2 separate regions of the Homo sapiens genome follow, and region 2 is linked to region 1. Evidence: promoter capture Hi-C in 16 types of primary human blood cells and fetal thymus (Javierre and others, 2016). All regions are on one chromosome and are shown on one strand. Each heading gives the region's core, a stretch centred on a gene start or on the middle of the fragment in contact. The rest is flanking DNA. Distances are from core to core; before and after follow the strand shown. Region 1 holds the start of PITX3 (paired like homeodomain 3). Region 2 has its middle 16 kb from the start of NOLC1.

What was found. Contacts are between HindIII fragments. The CHiCAGO score rates a contact against its expected background, and 5 or more counts as called.
Region 2: a contact is called between a fragment that was not itself captured here and the fragment with the promoter of PITX3 in region 1, in 1 of 17 cell types (megakaryocytes). The highest score is 5.3, in megakaryocytes.

Annotation. Positions count from the first base shown.
Region 1 is chr10:102,239,395-102,243,406 of GRCh38, forward strand. PITX3 (paired like homeodomain 3) reads right to left here and starts at 2,118. Exons shown (of 4, transcript NM_005029.4): 1 at 1,939-2,118. It also overlaps a transcript of GBF1 not described here. RefSeq lists a silencer at 1,980-2,269. The HindIII fragment of the contact is 9,988 bases long and covers 1-4,012 here.
Region 2 is chr10:102,166,755-102,170,766 of GRCh38, forward strand. No RefSeq gene overlaps it. Among named protein-coding and RNA genes, the nearest start is that of NOLC1, 16 kb to the left of the region's middle. The HindIII fragment of the contact is 1,609 bases long and covers 1,287-2,895 here.

The sequences.
Region 1 (4,012 bases), core at 868-3,367:
AGAGTCCTTCATTTCACCTATAATTTCAGTGATTTTATGGGAGCACAGCAATGGGAGCACAAGCCCCTGAAAAGTGTATCAGAATGTGATGGGGATAATTGTGGTGTGTCTTTATATTGATCAAAATAGGGCAAATGAAAAACAAAAGTTGAGAATCCTAGCCAGTAATAAGCAAACTTTAGAACTGAGGAATGGACATGGGAGTATGGGGAATACGTATTGTATGTCACTCACAGGTGAAGGGTAAGAAAGGTTGAAACCACTGTTTAGATTACTCATTGCTAAATACAATGCCTTGCACTTGTCCTTGTGAAAACTCAGTCCCCAGCTGGGCTATCTTGCTCACTTATATGGACTCGTTCTCCCTGTTCTGTCCTCTTCAGCATAATTGAGCTGTGGTTAGAATTGGGGTCAGGGTGGATGGTCACTGTATGGGCCCAGCAGAGTCAGGGCTGTATCCCAGCTGCAGGGAAAGTAAACCCGGCTGTTAGGTAGGGCCAAGATATCCTTCCCAACCAGACTGAGAGGGCCAGATAGCCCCCTGTTGGACTCCAGAGTCTGGATTCCATGAGCCTCCTTCCCACCTCCGCTCAGCCACCAGGGTGGTGTTGGGACTGGTAGGGCTGAGGAAGAAAAAGGGAAACAGGACCACAGGATTTGCTTTGCTAATGGGGCTGTAGTTTTCTCTTCTGGCCTGGGCTCCTGCCCACTGTAGGGAAGGAGCCATTGGTCGCCTGATACTCCAGCAAGGAGTCTGGGGGGTGTCTGGTTAATTGTATTGGAATTAGGGGGCAACTGAGGCTGCCAGGGGCTTGTACCCAGCTCCTTCCTGTTTTCCCATTGCCTTTTGTCACCTATTCCTTCCTTTCCTGGTCTTGATTCCCACTAGCAGGCTCCTCATTGGCCTTCTGTCCTCAAATTTGGATTCTGGAAGTACAGAGTGATGCTCTGATCTATTCTGAATTGAAGGGGGCATGTGTCCCAGCCCACCTCACCCCAAGGCCAGGTTGTAGCCTTTACTCTCGCTCCCTGCTCACAGCTTCGCAGCCCGAAGGAGCTGAAACAAGTTTGCAAAGTGTGAGCTGGGATTTGAGGTGACCCACCGCAGCCGACCCCATCGCACACGCAGCAGCTGGGCAGGCGCTGCTGGGTAGACGGACATGCCACCCAGCCAGGGACATTCTGTCCGCCACTGCCAGACACAACTCCCGCTCCGGAGAGACCCACTTCGCTACCCGGACATTCTGTCCGCTCCGAGCCCCATGCACCGCGGACATTCTGTCCGATTCTGAGGCGGCCTCAAGTCAGGACCCTTCTGGGCCCAGACACCCCAAGCCAGATCCACTATACCCGCCGCCTGGTCACTCTGATCCGCACAGCGGCCATCTGACTCAGTCGCGGCCGGGCTCTCACAACACAGCTCCTATTCCAACTGCGGAGCAGCTGGGAAGAGAAGCGTGTGCGACCAGGCGCACCCCGGCTCCCAGCCCCAGGAGTCTGAGCCTAGGCCGAGGGGCATCGGGCGCCGTCAACTGCCCCCACACTGGGGGCCGCCCCGCCAGCTCCCCCGCTGGCCAGGGCCTCTGTAACCCCTTTCGCTCCCTGGCCGCCTGCCCCGTGCCCTGGGATTCCAGGGCGCTTTCTGGTAATGGTTTCCAGACTCCCTACTCCCTGCCTCGCGAAGCCCCTATCCTGGTTTCAAGTCTCCGGCTTCGTTCCGGATCCTCTGAGTCTCCCCCTTCCCTATCCCCTGGTTCTTACCCTGAGTTTCCCTTTTCCCAAGTCCTGGCCCCAGGTCTGCAGTCCGCCCTCCCATTCTCGACCTGTTCCCAAGGCACCGGAGTTCAGCTGCCCCAGGTCTCGTTTTAGGGATTCCAAGGTCCAGCAATAGCTCCTCGGCCCCATGAGCCCCTGTCCTTAGAATGGTCAAACACTCACAGTGCGTCCTGCAACAGGCAGACTCCCAGTAGCGGCGGCTGCGGCGGCGATCTAGAGGGCAGGCAGGGGCCAGGGGCCGGGCACCCGGCCGGAGTGGGGGCCGCCCCCCTGCTCCCGGGCCGCCTCTCCGCTCGGGCGCTCCTGGACTCTCGGAGGGAGTGAGCCTCACCGCGTACTGCCACCCCCAGCCGGCGCCCATTCACTTTATGGCAGACCAGGGCGCCCCCAGCCCGCCGCGGCGAGCCGCGCGCGTCAGGCCCCGCCCCTTTCCAGCTGCCCTGCTGGGGCTCCGCCCTTTCCAGCTGTGGATCTCCAGGCCCCGCCTTTGAGGGAGGGGTCTGGCCGGCGAGACGCCAAGAACCCCGCCCTCTGGCCAATCAGAAGCGCTCTTCAGCAACTCGGCCGCGCCCCTCCCCACGTGGCAGAGACCGCGCTCCGGCTAGGACGCTTAGGCAGAGCCAAGTGGGCGAGAGTAGAGTGGTCCCGGTAGCCACGGGTAAAAGGGATCGGCTGGCAGCGAAGTGGGTTGGGCCGCTACCCCGAGGAAAGTGGATCGGCGCCAGGTGGGAAGGCGCACGGGGCCGCCGGGTCTCAGCGCTCAGACTTCTCTGCCACTCAAGTTTCGCCGATTTTCTCCACTTGTCGCTGTCCGTCTCTCCTCCCTTTTGTCTCTGTTCCAATCCTCCCACGTCTCGCCTTTCTTTCCTCTTCTTTCTCCTCAGCCGCTTCGCTCCTGCTGTTTACCATTCTCCTTCCTCTGCCACTTTAAAAGACTCATTTCTCTTTCTCTCTGCTCCTCTTTCCTCATATCTTTCCTCTTCTTCATTTCCCCCTTCTTCTCCAAGGAAGGTGACTTCGTGGAGACAGCAGGGTTTGGAATGATACAAACCAAAGTAGTATTCCAACGCTGCCACGAACTGCACCATCACTGAGTGAACTTGGACGAGTAACTATCATCTCCCTCCCCGCGCAAAACAATTAAGAGGAGGTTCCTGCTGGATCTCAGGGCTTGGGCTGGGCACTCCAAAGGCATTGCCTTTCAGTCTGTACCCTTGTCTTGCTTAGGCTGTGCTCTCCCTCCTTCAGCAGGGCTGGTTTCCCGCTGGTGGTACCAGGTTAAGTCCTGTGGGCAAGGTGTGGCCTTGGTGCCTGCTGGTTAGGAATTTGCAAGGGACAGGACAGATGACCAAGGAACATCCTGGCAGACTGTGACTTCGGCCCTCTCTGACTTAGGCCTCAATTTCCAGGAAACAGGCTCCTTCTCTTCTCCCAGTTAGGCTATGTTGCTTGGGTGCTCCGAAGAGCCTAAGCCCAGGCCAAACACTGTGGCTCATGCCTGTAATCCCAGCACTTTGGGAGGCCGAGGCGGGCGGATCACAAGGTCAGGAGATTGAGACCACCCTGGCTAACACGGTGAAACCCCATCTCTACTAAAAAATACAAAAAATTAGCCGGGCTTGGTGGCGGGTGCCTGTAGTCTCAGCTACTGGGGAGGCTGAGGAAGAAGAATGGCGTGAACCCAGGAGGCAGAGCTTGCAGTGAGCTGAGATCGCGCCACTGCACTCCAGACTGGGCGACAGAGCAAGACTCTGTCTCAAAAAAAAAAAAAAAAAAGAGCCTAAGCCCAGTCACACAATATGCCCCTAAGGCAAATCTGAGCAGTCATGTCTTGACTGTTCAGTGACTCCCATTGCCCTTAGGATAAAGGTCAAGCTCCCTAGCCTGGCATACAAGACCTTCAGGACCTGACCTTGTCTTCATCTCCAATTTCCTAGTAGTGTCCTGCACACCTCTGGCCCTTCCTGTGAAAGTAACCCATCTTTATATTGTCAATTCCTACTCCTCCAATGTTCCACTCAAGTCTTATTTTCTCTGGGAAGCCTTTTCTGAACTCTCAGTTTAGCCCCTTGCTCTCATGACCCTCAGTGTATACCTTCTATTACACCACCCACCATATTGAAGGGATCAGCTTATGTGTTGTCTGCTATGATAATAAAATTTAGGAGGGTAAGGACCATGTCTGTTATTCCCAGGCATAATGTAGAATCTCAATAAATGTCACACTGAAATCTAT
Region 2 (4,012 bases), core at 841-3,340, 73 kb before region 1:
TGAGCTACCACGCCTGGCCTTGGCATTTTTATTTTATTTATTTTGAGACAGGGTCTTGCTCTGTCACCCAGGCTGGAGTACAGTGGTGCAAACTTGGCTCACTACAACCTCCACCTCCCAGGCTCAAGCAATCCTCTCATCTTAGCCTTCCGAATAGCTGGGACCACAGGTATGTGCCACCACACTTGGCTAATTTTTGTGTTTTTTGTAGACAGGGTTTTGTCATGTTGCCCAGGCTGGTCTCGAACTGAGCTCAAGCTATCTGCCTGCCTTGGCCTCCCACAAGTGTTGGGATTACAGACGGGAGCCACCGCGCCCAGCCCGTTTTCATTTTTAAGTTGAATATGACATACATCCATTAATTTATTCTCCTTAAAACATAAATAATTTGTGAGGTTGCTGTTTATTGTTTAAATCATGACTTTTCTTCTGTATTGTATAACCCTTCTCAGTCTTGTTTGCTTTTTTCCGACAGAACTCATTTCCTCTTAGGCCTTGCAAAGCTGAGTCTGCTACGTTTTGCAGCTAGTGTGTTACACAAATGAGGCGGTTTAGCAAATTGCCTAACAGTATTCATTAGGAAGGTTAACCTGAGTCTGCGTTTGTTTGTTTGTTTGTTTGTTTTTGAGACAGGGTCTTGCTCTGTTGCACAGGCTGGAGTGCAGTGGTGCGATTACGATCACCGCTCACTGCAGCCTCAGCCTCTGGGGCTCAAGCAGATACTCTGATCTCAGCCCCCTGAGTAGCTGAGATCCTCCCACCTCAGCCTCCTGAGTAGCTGGGACTACAGTAGTCACTAGGCTTGGCTAGTTGTTTTTTTGTTTGTTTTGTTTTTGTTTTTGTTTTTAATTTTGTTTTGTAGAGACAGGGTCTCCCTGTGTTGCCCAGGCTACTCTCAAACAATCCTCCCACCTCAGCCTCCCAAAGTGCTGGGATTACAGGCGTGAGCCACTGTGCCCAGCCCAGAGTGTACCTTCTGATGTAAAATGAGAATACTGGCTGGGCCTGTAATCCCAGCACTTTGGGAGTCCAAGGCGGGTGGATCACGAGGTCAGGAGATCGAGACTATCCTGGCTACTTGCAGTGAGCTGAGATCGCACCACTGCACTCCAGGCTGGGTGACAGAGCAAGGCTCTGTCTCAAAAAAAGAGAGAATACTATCTCAACTCATTTGTAGATTCTTGACTCTCTCAGAGGCTTGTTGTAAGGACTGAGAATTTAAAGCACTTAGTACAGTCCCTGGCATATTATAAGCACTCCATAACTGCCTCTTGCTCAACAAAAAAAGCTTTGGAAATGATGTTCTTTGGTTTCCTTGTGATGTGCAACATGCCATTTTGGCAAAGGCATCAAGCATATGTTAATGATTATTTCCCTGCAATGGTTTTTTGTTGTTTCACGTTTATCATCTTTATTCCTGATACAAAAATGGATATGTGGAATTGGTCCTATTAGAAACTTCTTAGTTTTGTGAAGAATCTGGAATTCCTACCCCTTGCTGATGGGCTCTGGCACTGAAATCCGCAAATTCAGTCAACCAGACACATGGCTCATGCCCCTCTGCATCATGCTTCATGGACACAGGCAGGAGACTTCCTAATGCCCTGTTGGGGGCTTGCCCTTCGCCCGGTGTAGCCTTACTGCAACCCTGTTAGGTGGGTATCGAGTAGATCATTCCATTTGGGGCCAGGTAAGTCTTTGCTTTTGAGGACTGTCCTGTGTGTTGTAGGATGTGTGGCAGCGTCCCTGGCCTCTAACACTGCATGCCAATAGTTTCCCCTAGTTGTGACAACCAAAAACGGCTCCAGGCATTGCCAAATATTTTCTGGGAAGGAAAATTGCCCCTAGTTGAAAACCACTACGGAAACAGCCCTGAGTATCAAATGATTTACTTAGGGTTGATGAAACTGCAACTTAGTGGCACATTGAGACAAGAACACAGGTCTCTGTATGTCCAAACATGGAGCTACCTGTATTCAATAGTCTTTGTGAACCTGCTATGTACTCGTCATAGAACTCCCAGAGAGCTCAGTGTCTAATGGGGAAAGTCAGGCATGGGAATGGTTTCTGTGCACTGAGCTGAGTTCTGTCCCAAACTGAAGGTCAGAGTAGCACCCCTAAGGGTACAAGCAAGAAAATACTTGGCTTGGCCCGGTGTGGTGGCTCACACCTGTAATCCCAGCACTTTGGGAGGCCGAGGCAGGCAGATCACGAGGTCAGGAGTTCGAGACCAGCCTGGTCAACATAGTGAAACCTCGTCTCTACTAAAAATACAAAAAATTAGCCAGGTGTGGTGGCAGGCGCCTGTAATCCCAGCTACTCAGGAAACTGAGACAGGAGAATCGCTTGAAACCGGAAGGCGGAGGTTGCAGTGAGCCAAGATCGTGCCACTGCACTCCAGCCTGGGCAACAAAGTGAAACTCTGTCTCAAAAAAAAAAAAAAAAAAAAAGAAGAAGAAGAAGAAGAAAAGACTTGGCTGATGGTGGCCTAGGATTCTGAAGACAGCTGCAGTTTGCCAGGAGCGAGAAAAGTGCATACCGTGTAAGGAAGAGTGCCTTTTCCAGTGGGAGAAGAGGGCTGTTAGAATGGGTCAAGCAGAGGTGTGCGGGAGGTGGGGGCAAGATACTGCGAAATTTCACTGAGAGTTCAATGTCAATGGCCTTTTGTACCTAAGTTAGGAATTAGTACTTTATTTTGTCCACCTGAGTATGTTAGGAGATTTGATAGTCTAATACAATACTCCTGGCACTAATCCGGTTGCGGTGAAAGCACTATTTCTGCCGGACCACGAAGTTCTCAAATCCCTCCTGCAGAGCCTGTCTGCAGTTACCGATGGGGCCAGTAGGTGGCGATGTTGCCCCCCTGTTTAGGGAGCTGGGCTGGACTTAAATAGAAGCTTAACTCCTTACTTACTCCAGTGCTATTCAACAAACTTGAAGAGCCGGGCGCAGTGGCTCACGCCTGTAATCCCAGCACTTTGGGAGGCGGAGGCGGGCGGATCACGAGGTCAGCCGATCGAGACCAACCTGGTTAACACAGTGAAACCCCGTCTCTACTAAAAATACAAAAAATTAGCGGGGCGCCGTGGCGGGCGCCTATATAGTCCCAGCTACTCGGGAGGCTGAGGCAGGAGAATGGCGTGAGCCCGGGAGGCGGAGCTTGCAGTGAGCCGAGATAGCGCCACTGCACTCCAGCCTGGGCGACAGAGCGAGACTCCGTCTCAAAAAAAAAAAAAAACACCTTGAAGAGCCCACTGTGAGCCTTTGGATACACAGATGAATAAGACACAGGCCCTCATCTGAGGCTCTTTAGTTTTGGAAATTAGAGAAGGGGTTTTTTGTTTGTTTGTTTGTTTGTTTGTTTTGAGACAGAGTCTCGCTCTGTCGCCCAGGCTGGAGTGCTGTGGTGCCATCTCGGCTCACTGCAAGCTCTGCCTCCTGGGTTCACGCCATTCTCCTGCCTCAGCCTCCCGAGTAGCTGGGACTACAGGCGCCCGCTACGGCGCCCAGCTAATTTTTTTGTATTTTTTAGTAGAGACGGGGTTTCACCGTGCTCTCCATCTCCTGACCTCATGATCTGCCCGCCTCGGTCTCCCAAAGTGCTGGGATTACAGGCGTGAGGCACCGCGCCCGGCCGAGAAGGGAGGTTTTCTGGTCTCTGGTCTGTACTGGTTATCCATGAGAGGTTACCTGATACCTGAAAGCCAGTGGCAGGCAACATGGCTTGTAGAAGATTAATGTTCCCCGTGGAACCCCAACCCTACCTCCAGGTCCTGGCAGGGCCTTCGGGCTCCTGCAAGGGTGACCGGCTGCAGATCCCACTGCTGATGGAAATTGCGGGCCTGTGTTCTTCCTAGGTCTGGGAGCTCAGAGGCTTTGATGCCTTCTCCTCTCTCCTCTCTCTTCCCTCCTCTCCCAGCATAATCTCAAGGAGCTCAGGATTGAGGAGAACAAATGCCAGGCTTCCGCCTTGGAAGTGGATACTTCCAAGTGGCAGAGGAAGTACAGAGTA